2 separate regions of the Homo sapiens genome follow, and region 1 is linked to region 2. The links are contacts of gene promoters, found by promoter capture Hi-C in blood cells and fetal thymus (Javierre and others, 2016). All regions are on one chromosome and are shown on one strand. Each heading gives the region's core, a stretch centred on a gene start or on the middle of the fragment in contact. The rest is flanking DNA. Distances are from core to core; before and after follow the strand shown. Region 1 overlaps POP1 (POP1 ribonuclease P/MRP subunit). Region 2 holds the start of FBXO43 (F-box protein 43).

The links. The method cuts DNA at HindIII sites, captures the fragments that hold promoters and counts their contacts. A CHiCAGO score of 5 or more calls a contact.
Region 1: a fragment that was not itself captured here is called in contact with the fragment with the promoter of FBXO43 in region 2 in 6 of 17 cell types (monocytes, M2 macrophages, non-activated CD4 T cells and 3 more); the score reaches 7.8 in monocytes.

The regions. Positions count from the first base shown.
Region 1 is chr8:98,157,774-98,162,642 of GRCh38, reverse strand. It overlaps POP1 (POP1 ribonuclease P/MRP subunit), which reads right to left. Exons shown (of 16, transcript NM_001145860.2): 16 at 2,808-4,869. The coding sequence ends at 4,372. Among named protein-coding and RNA genes, the nearest start is that of NIPAL2-AS1, 16 kb to the left of the region's middle. The HindIII fragment of the contact is 4,067 bases long and covers 76-4,142 here.
Region 2 is chr8:100,144,564-100,149,901 of GRCh38, reverse strand. It overlaps FBXO43 (F-box protein 43), which reads left to right and starts at 4,085. Exons shown (of 5, transcript NM_001029860.4): 1 at 4,085-4,851. The coding sequence starts at 4,767. RefSeq lists a silencer at 3,902-4,361. The HindIII fragment of the contact is 15,929 bases long and covers 1-5,338 here.

The DNA.
Region 1 (4,869 bases), core at 860-3,359, 2.0 Mb after region 2:
CAACCTTGGCTGCAAATCACCTGGGAGCTGTTAAAACCCCCAAAGTCTAGCTCACACCCTTGACCAGTTAAAGCTTCATCCCAGGAGGGTAGGCCCTGGGCACCAGTGCTTTGAAAGCCTGCAGGTGATTCCCATGTGCAGCCAAGGCTGAGAACAGCTGGTCTGGAAGTATACTCACCAAAAGAAAAACAAGAGACCTCATTTGATATTCTCAAGTAGAGAAGGCTACAGAAGTAATGAGGCTGTTTTCTTTTTCACTACCAGGCCTCTTCCCCAGGTGGAAGCCCTGACTCTGGGCCACCCAGCCCTCGACACTACGCTCTCATTACGTTCCCACCTGGACGCTTCACCATGCAGTCAACAGACCGTGTGAGCGGACTTTGCAGACATGTACTTTTTCGTAATGGCAAGCAGGCCTGCTACAGGCACAGGAGTTCTTGGGTTTCCATGGCCTTGTTACTCAGTCACACTTCCCCAAGGTGCAGAGGGTCCAAGAGCCAGACCTCCGAAAGCGGCGATTCTCCACTGAGCGGCACATCACAACGGCCTGGGGAGCTCATAAATACTGATCCTTGGGCCCAACCCAAGATTGATTTCTGGGCTGCAGCTTGGGCTATTGGGTGATTCTAAAATGCAGCCAAAGGCCAGGCACAATGGCTCACACTTGAAACTCAGCACTTTGGGAGGCCGAGGTGGACAGATCACTTGAGGTCAGGAGTTCGAGACCGGCCTGACCAACGTAGTGAAACCCCGTCTCTACTAAAAAATACAAAAGTTAGCCGGGTATGGTGGCGTGTACCTGTAATCCCAGCTACTCGGGAGGCTGAGGCAGAAGAATCGCATGAACCCGGGAGGCAGAGGTTGCAGTGAGCCAAGATCGTGACACTGCACTCCAGACTGGGCAGACAGAGTAAGACTGTAGGAGAGAAGAGGAGAGAAGAAGAGAGGAGGGGAGAGGAGGGGAGAGGAGGGGAGAGGAGGGGAGAGGAGGGGAGAGGAGGGGAGAGGAGGGGAAAGGAGGGGAGAGGAGGGGAGGGGAGGGGAGGAGAGGGGAAGGGGAGGAAAGGAAAGGAGAGGGGAAGGGGAGGGGAAGGGAAGGGTGCCAAGACTGGAAGCTGCTGTTGCCAAAGAAAAGGCAGTGCCTGTATTCCTCTGTGTCCTCAGGAGGCCTATAATAACCAGAACCGCTGTGAAACTGGGGTTGATGCTTGAGTGGCCCACAGTTGCTACAGGCTATGTATTCTCTGCTAAACAGCTCAATCCTGGACCTATCTCTGTGCTCCCCAGGCCTCAGATCGGCTGGCTACGAGTAGGCCAGTTAAGACTATGAGGGAGTCCATATAGCTTGTCAACCGCCCCCCTCACCTCCCACTGGTTGGGAAGAAAGAACTCACGCAAGGCATGTGGCCGCCAAGACGGCAATGCTACACTTAGTACATGATGGGTGGTTACATACTAACTTCCCATTTAAAAAAAAAAAAAAAAAAAAGGAGTATTATCCTTAAAGCTCTTGCCAGTCAAGCACCAACAAAAAAACTGGTAACATGCACTCTGCTGCACTTGCATGGTATAGCTCTTTATATAAGCAACGGCTTATGTTATTAAAAGAAAACTACCCACATACATCTTAACGTCTAGGATACATAACAGAAGGTAACTAGTTATATTGCATGGTGAAAATCCAGGTGATTTAAATTTTGTTATTGTTGCTCATCTTCATTTTCTAATTGTTTTATGATGAATATGGATGACTGATATGAACAATATTACTAGAGCATAAACACCAAAAGGAATCCATTGTTTCTTACAGAACTCAAGTGCATAGCTGGTCTGTAAGTGTTCAGCTCACAACTCTGCCTTTTCTTTTCTTTTTTTTTTTTTGGAATGGAGTTTTGCTCTTGTTACCCAGGCTGGAGTGCAATGGTGCGATCTCGGCTCATTGCAACCTCCGCCTCCCGGGTTCAAGCAATTCTCCTGCCTCAGCCTCTCAAGCAGCTGGGATGGCAGGCATGCGCCACCATGCCTGGCTAATTTTGTATTTTTGGTAGAGACAGGGTTTCACCATGTTGGTCAGGATGCTTCAAGAACCCTAAAAGCATTGCTCCCTCAACAAGAGGACAAGGGCCACATTGCACTTATTTGGTAGCTATGTAGCTCTAGTACAGCATGGCAGGCACTTGGAAGGATCAAGATCAACACGCTAATCAATTCAACTGCCAGAAAGTAAGCCATTCCCCTATCAGTCTTTTTCATAAGGAACATGGATTCTTTACTGCCTCTGCAGAGTCTGTTAGTTTTTCAACGTATCTTCTGTGAAACTAGTGTTCTCTGGACAATAGGTATGCAAAAACCAAAAAAGGTACGTGTGTGGGAGTCTGAAAGACAGATTTCTTTCCTAAAGAGCTTTGCAGAGCTTTGACTCTGCAAGTATTCATTGTGAATCATAATAGGAGGATACCATATATAGCTTTTCCCATATTTATTTAGCCATAAAATACTTTTCTCCAGGAACAGCTGCAGGGACTAGTACTCCCAGGAATACATTTTGGGAAATGCTAATCTATCTTTCTGGTGCGCAGCTCTTTGACCTACCACCCACCAGGCAGAGTGGCTGCAAACGTGCCCTGTCCCCTATAATGAGGGCGGGGCAGCAGGCCCTAGGCAGGGCTGTACAGAATGAGGTTAGGTGACCACGCAGCACACTCAGACTTCTGTCATCGAGTGAGCTCAGCCACAAATGAGGTGACTGAGAGCCCAGAAAACAAATAAGGAATGGTCCAATAAATATAAATATTCACAACTGAACATCAGGTGACATTTTCATTTATTCTGTTTACAGATGCCACTTAGTTACACTGTTTTTTTTTTTTCAGTCTCATCTGGGTTGGATCCAAAGACATTCAGAGGCATGGTAAGAGGCAAAGCATCAGACATCTCATTGGTGGCAGGTACTTCCTGACTACTGTACCACCTGCTGTATCCTTCCCCACCTCATCACCCCCAAAGCCATTTAGTGCCAAATGCTACAGTAAAAACCCAATGCATTTACATAAAATAATGCCTAACTGCATATTTACATTTTTTAGAAAAAAAATCCCATTAAGCTCTTCTAGAAAGTTATGGCAGGAAAGGTAAGGACCAAGGCTATGAGCAAGCCATATGTGGAAACTTAAAGTAGATGAGCACTGAGTTTCTCCATAGTTGGAAAAAAGCCACACTGAGCCCACTCTTCCTGTGAGGCAAGATGAGACCTTCCTTTTATACCCTGTTGAGAATCTCAGGTGGACAACGTGACTGCATGAGTGTTGAAAGGCAGCTTGCCGGCTTAGTTATCACCTTGCAGAGGTAGCTATGCACTACACAGCCACACTGCCCAAAGCGCGCTACTAAGAACACTGGTCCTACAAAGGGCTCCTTGTAAGAGAACTTTAGGAATCACAAGTATTTAGAAAATACTATACACTATCATTTCCTTCCTAGAGATCCGCAATGCACATTATCACATGGAAGTTTCCAGAAGTTCTTTCATAAAGAAATGCTTAACTTTATTTAACCTAGAGTTTCCATATCAACCTGACCTTGGAATCTCTTACTTTTTTAGGTGACACATATCATAGAACATATTCTGAGAAATGCTCCTCTATGGCTTTGAGAAAATCTTTGCAGAAACAAAATAATAATAATTTTTTACTTAAAAAAATTAAGTAACTAGTAGGATCAAGTGTTGGTCAACAACAAAGAGATCAAAGAGTCAGGAAGTCCACGTCATAGACCCCCACTTTCTAATTCCAGCCTAGCACTGACGCCATAAACTGTGCCTGCCTGAAAACAGGCAGAAATCAGTTGTCCATGATTTCTCTCTTTAAGGCTTGAGTTGTTCGGCATGGAAATCACAGTACAGAATTGAATGAGGTCCATCAGGAGCCCATATTTCATGTACAGAGGCCAAGCGTCTTCTCTTGTCTTCTGCTATAACAGTGAAATCATTAAACATCTATTGTTGCTTATCACATGACTATGAGGTTTTTCAAATAGACCTGACAAGCCCTTTGTTTCTAACAAAAAAAGGGGATGATAACTCGTAGAGCTTCTCATTATTTTCAGCCACAACTACACAGACCAAGAGATCATAATACAAAGCTTTTGGCCAAATAATTTAAAAGTATTACAGCAAGGACAGGGAAAGATGAAAATCAATGACATTACTGGAATGATGTAAACATTTCATCATCTGCATAATACATAATTTTTTATTCTTGTTTCCAGGGAGTTTCACATGATATTTTAAAGCAGAAGCAGATTCTCCACATGTAGAACTTGGCAGACAATAATAACGTATTATCTATGCCCTGCTGGGATACAAGCACGCATTCACACCTCAATAGCAATCCTCGCAAATCGATACTGCAGAGAGGCGGGAGGCCTCAGTAGCACTAAGCCCCTCTGCGCTGCAGGCTGGCTGGACAGCATATCCAGCAAGCCTGTCAAGCTAACAAACCCCAGGGCTTCTCCACAGCCAACAGCCATGGAAAAATCTCCCTGAGTCACAAAGCCTAGGAGAGTTCTGGAGCAGTGCAACGTCACACGCGGCAGAGGGCCTGACCACAGCCCTAGAGTCAGAGCTTCCTGCCCAGCCACGGGCTCTTCCCCCGCCGGGCCATCAGAAGAGGCACGTCCTGGCTTCTGCCTCTTCTCCCTTTTCTTCTTCTCTTTCTGTTTCAGGATCTTGCTCCTGAATGGGTCACTGTGTTTGGATTCCTGGGGCCCACAGTAATGCCAGTCCTCATGGAGCTGGAGGAAGTCCTCCTTGGCTGGGACACAGATCATGGTGTGAGGCTCGGGGCTGCCCTTGCTGAGCAGGGACAGGCT
Region 2 (5,338 bases), core at 2,836-5,335:
ACATTTGTTTCCTTTTTTTCCAGAAGATATTTTACTTAGTAGGGTGAAGAAAATGAAGCTATTTTAAAAAATTTAAAAATAACTTAATTGTTAATAACTATTTTAAAGTTAGTGAAAGAAGTAGGCGTTCTTTCTCCCAACACGCACTATGTCTGATATTTTATTAAGCAGGTTATACTCCTTTCGGGCCCTCCATCCAGAAATCTGAGAACTTTGAGCTTCACCTTTCACTTCCAGAAGTTCAAACTCCTTCTGTTGCATCTCCCCAGACCAGCTTGAGAGATTTAAGTTGATCTTTCCAGGAAGATGCCATTTAAAAACCCTTCAGGAAAACGCAGCAGTTCCTGGCTTCTTTCTTCACAGACAGGCTAACAGAGCATAAATATTTTAACCATTAGCCCTGTTACAAAGTACCTCTCCTCTTAACCAAAGAGGTGATCTAATACAAGAGGCACAATAGGCTTCCCTGTAAGAACTATTAGATGGAACCATTGTTATCCTAAGCGAAAGATGACAGAGTGATCCCAAAAGTCAAACTTTCATATTTACAAGCTCTCTTGTATATTAACTCTCCAGTTGAAATATCAAGATAATTCTCGTGCAGAACAATTTATGGAGATCAGAATGGATCAACATATGTAGAATACAAATGGGTCCTGGGGCCCTACAAAAGGGCAAAGTAATGACAAGTCATAGCAAGAAGATCCAGAATTTCAACAAGAATTCATGTTGGTGCTAGTTCCCAATCCAACACGCTCTTTCCTATCAACAGAGACTGGTAGTTCTAGGATCACTTGGGAGTTTGGTCAGTGTAAGCTACACTATTATCAATGATAGCATTAACTTTTTCTGAGCATGTACTACATGCCAGACATCATTGCATTGCTCTGTTTTAATGGGGGTAGTTGTCTTGCCATCCTGGAAAACAATGCTTTTAACTCTTTATTAAGAAGGTTATGGAGATGCAAGTTGCTATTTTTTCCCTGAATCTCTGTCTTTCCTTTTTCCTTGATTATATTCACTTAAATATATCCAGATAGCTTGAATATCATGGTAATTTGGGAAATCTCCCATTACGTTTTATTGGATGGTCCCAAAAAGAAGCATCAGATTTTGTGGCAAGCAGGTGGGTTTTAGAGTTCTGAAATTAGTGATGGGATGACACCCAATGCAAGAAAGGAAAGCAAAGGGCTGGGCACCGTGGCTCACGCCTGTAATCCCAGCATTTTGGGAGGCTGAGGCGGGCAGATTGCTTGAGGTCAGGAGTTCAAGACCATCCTGGCTAACATGATGAAACCCCGTCTCTACTAAAAATACAAAAAATTAGCCAGACATGGTGGCATGCACCTGTAATCTCAGCTACTTGGAAGGCTGAGGTGCAAGAATCGCTTGAACCCGGGAGGCGAAGGTTGCAGTGAGCTGAAATTGCCCCACTTCACTTCAGCTTGGGTGACAAAGTGAGACTCTGTCTCAAAAAAAAGGGAAGCAAAAAGGCAAAAGACTGTAAAGAATATGAAATTACAGCTCAGTGGCTTCAATCTGGAGTATGTAAGTAAAGCTCAGGCAAACTACATATAACTAGGTGTCTTTTTGCCCGTTTTTAGGTGGGGAGAGGTGACAATGATTCTTCCTTGAACAATATAAAGGAGATATGATATAGTCTTTCACTCCTCAGACATAATAAAATATCTCAAGAAAAATAAATTAACTGGAGAAAAAAGAAAAGGGCAATGTTTAAATGGTTTTGGGGTTATGTGGATTCTACTTAACCATTGGCAAAATTCCCTGCCCTGTTTACATTGGGATGGAGATGGGGAGCAGACATTAAACAAAAATGAGTAGATAATATGGGATTTTAGAAGGTAGTAAACTACACAGAGAAAATTCAGTAGAATTCTGCAGGAGAATTGCAAATGTGGGGCAGGAAAGGGTAAAATGGCTGTAATAGAGATTTGTTTGAAGAGCTAGAGAGGGTACTATTCACTCTACCAGGGAGTGTGGGGGTAGGCTTCAGAGAGGTGCTGTCTTGAAGAATGTGTAATTCATTAATTCTTTACAGTCCTACAGGTACCTCAAACTTAACAACCTCACACTAAATGCATCTTATTTTCTCCCAAGCCTATACTCTTCATTCCCTCACTCCTTGCCCCATGCAGTTGATTCTGCCAACTGAACATGTCACATCTTGGTTCTGCTCCACCCCCCACTGCCTTCTGGAGAAATGCAGTAGCTTCCTACTGGTCTCCTAGCAGCCACCCTTGCCTCTCTTCATTCTGTCCTCCATTCTGCCACCAGAGTGGACTTTCTAAAATGCTCTTCAAACTCTGAAGGTGCAACCAGAACTTCCCAAGACTTAGCTTCTTCACTTCTCAGGAATTTTCTCTAATCCTTTCCTCTAACAACTCTTAGTTTCTGCCTATAACAAATTATTTGCAGCTTCTCCATGTGCCCAACTGCTCTTGCACATTTTGTTTTGAGTTTGAAATTTTCCTGCCCTTATACATTTTAAGTTTGGAATTTCCTGCTGTCTGCCTTTTAAATTGCCACTTGTACATCAAAATCTATCTCATGCACTCTGTTCTCCAGTAGAGTTAGCTGGTTCTTCTTTCCTTTGTGCTGCTACTGTTCCTCTGTTACAGCACTTGCTCTATACCAATGAGCTCCTTAACAGCAGTAACTGTGGCTGTGTCAGCTCTGTATTCCCAGTACCTAGCACAGTAATTGGCACATAGTTGGAATTTAATAACTGTTAGTGGACGGGCACAGTGGCTCATGCCTGTAATCTCAGCACTTTGGGAGGCTGAGGCAGGTGGATCACCTGAGGTCAGGAGTTCGAGACCAGCCTGGCCAACCTGGCAAAACTCCGTCTCTACTGAAAATACAAAAATTAGCTAGGCGTGGTGGCGGGTGCCTGTCATCCCAGCTACTCGGGAGGCTGAGGCAGGAGAATCGTTTGAACCTGGGAGGTGGAGGTTGCAGTGAGCCAAGATTGCACCACGGCACTCCAGCGTGCGTGACAGAGCGAGACCCTGTCTCATAATAATTTTAGTGAGTTTGGTTTTGGATGACTGAGGGACATCCAGTTGGAGAAATGTCCAGTCAGAGAAGAGTGGTGGTAGTGCCTGTTATTGGCTTAAAAGTGATGGTTGAAGTTCTGAATAAGAATTACATAAGCATGGGATGATAAACTAATAAAAATGCTGAGGTAGGACCTCTCATTTAGGGAGTAGGCCAAGGAAAAGAAGCCAGAAAAAGGAGACTAGGAAGAAGCTGCCAAGAGCAGCAGGAGTGTCCCTGGCATATAATAGACGCCCAGTAAATATTTATTGAATGAAAAAATTAGGGTTTAAAAAATTTATTTGGCTTTGAGGGTACTTGGGAGTTCATGATGCCCAAAAATGGATGTTTGTAAACAATGAACACATTTCACTCTGGTTTTTATGAATAGATTTTTTAAAAATCTTTTTTTTGAGATGGGGGTCTCACTATGTTGCCCAGGCTGGTCTCAAATTCCTTGGCTCAAGTGATCCTCCCACCTCTGTGCTGGGATTACAGATGTGAGCCACCAGGCCCGGCTCAGCTTTTTTATCACAAAATCTGTATATATTCATTGTTGAAACATGAGAAGAAAACACAGATAAAAAGAACTAAAAAGCAAACATAATCCTGTACAAATTTACCGTATCCAAGTTATTCATACCTTTCAGACCTCATCCTGTGTATATCCATATTTTTAACCTAAAAGGGGTCAGTTTGTAACTTGCTTTTTGCACTTGACAGTTTGGAGAATCATTTCCAAGGGAACATTCTCATACATGATTTCTAATGGCATCCCACTGTAGGCCACGTTAGCATTCCTAAATACGGTAATGCTTCCCAAAGTGGGAATGGGGAGAAGCAGAGCCTTTCTGACCCGCCTCGGGACGGGTGCAGGGGTGAGCGAGAGAGGGGGCGCTCCTCCCGCTCAAGCGAGGACCCAGGCCTGCGGGCGGCCGGGCGGGAGCGCTGCAGAGCCGGAGGAAGGGGCGGGACAGCGCGGCGCGGGGCGGGGCTGCGCTTAGCGGTTACCCCGGGCGGGCCGTTCAAACCTAAGGAGGTAAAGGCAGCGGCCCCACGCGAAGCTGGCGTGGGGGTTGCCATAGCCCGCATCCCAGGGGGCGAGGCCGAGGCTTCTCCCCGGCCCATCCAGCGGCTGCTGCCCGGCTCCTCTCCCACCTGTCCGCTTCGGCGCCTCGCCCGGCCCCGCGGCCTCCAGGCAGGCGGCGGGACCCCAGGCGAGTGCCCGTTAGCGGGTCTCCCGGCGGCCCGGCCCCGCGTCGCCCTGTGTCTTCCAGGTGCTGGGCCTAGGGAGGCGCGCGGCAGCCCTCACTCCTCCGCTCCTGGTGACGCCAGCCCATCCCCTGCTGCCCTTGGCTTTCTGGGCCTAGCGGATCTTTGACGCCCTGGTGAGACCGTTACCCACCCGCCCGCCATAGCTCCTCGGGGGAGTCAGTGCCAGGCTGCAGCACACGCTGCCTTTTCAGGAACCCGAATTTGGGAAGTTTACTCATGTCTAAGTCCAGCTGGAGAAAACAAGGATATTAAGATAACTATTTTCTGGAGGGCTGAAGGAAATTCAAAATGATTTAGACCTTCTCAAGTGTTAGGAATAATCCCTGCGGCATGCACCCTGTGTACCCTTCGACTTTGAGCAATCATGATGCTGCTGCACCTTTCAATTAATTGTGCAAACTAAAGTTTTCCTCTTTAAGTGGCATTATTTTGGCATGAGTTTTAAAGACAAAGATGAGAGAATTTCTTGTTTGGAAGCCTACGTAACTTTGACATCTAAGAGCTCAAGATTTACTGATGGTAAGAGTTTCCACTTTAACAAATGAAGAACATTTGGGTTTAATGTAAGTACTTCATTCTCTGATGTGGTAGGTGCTTTTTCTTTTTTTTCTTTTTCTTTTTTCTTTCTTTTTTTTTTTTTGAGACGGAGTCGCTCTGTCGCCCAGGCTGGAGTGCAGTGGCGCGATCTCGGCTCACTGCAAGCTCCACCTCCCGGGTTCACGCCATTCTCCTGCCTCAGCCTCCCGAGTAGCTGGGACTACAGGCGCCCGCCACCACGCCCGGATAATTTTTTTGTATTTTTAGTGGAGACGGGGTTTCACCGTGTTAGCCAGGTTGGTCTCGCTCTCCTGACCTCGTGATCCGCCCGCCCCGGCCTCCCAAAGTGCTGGGATTACGGGCGTGAGCCACCGCGCCCGGCCGCTGCTTTTTTTTTTTTTTTTCTTAAAGAACACTTTAGGAATAAGTTTTCTCAGCCTTTTATCAGAAGCCTAGTTTTTAAAAATGA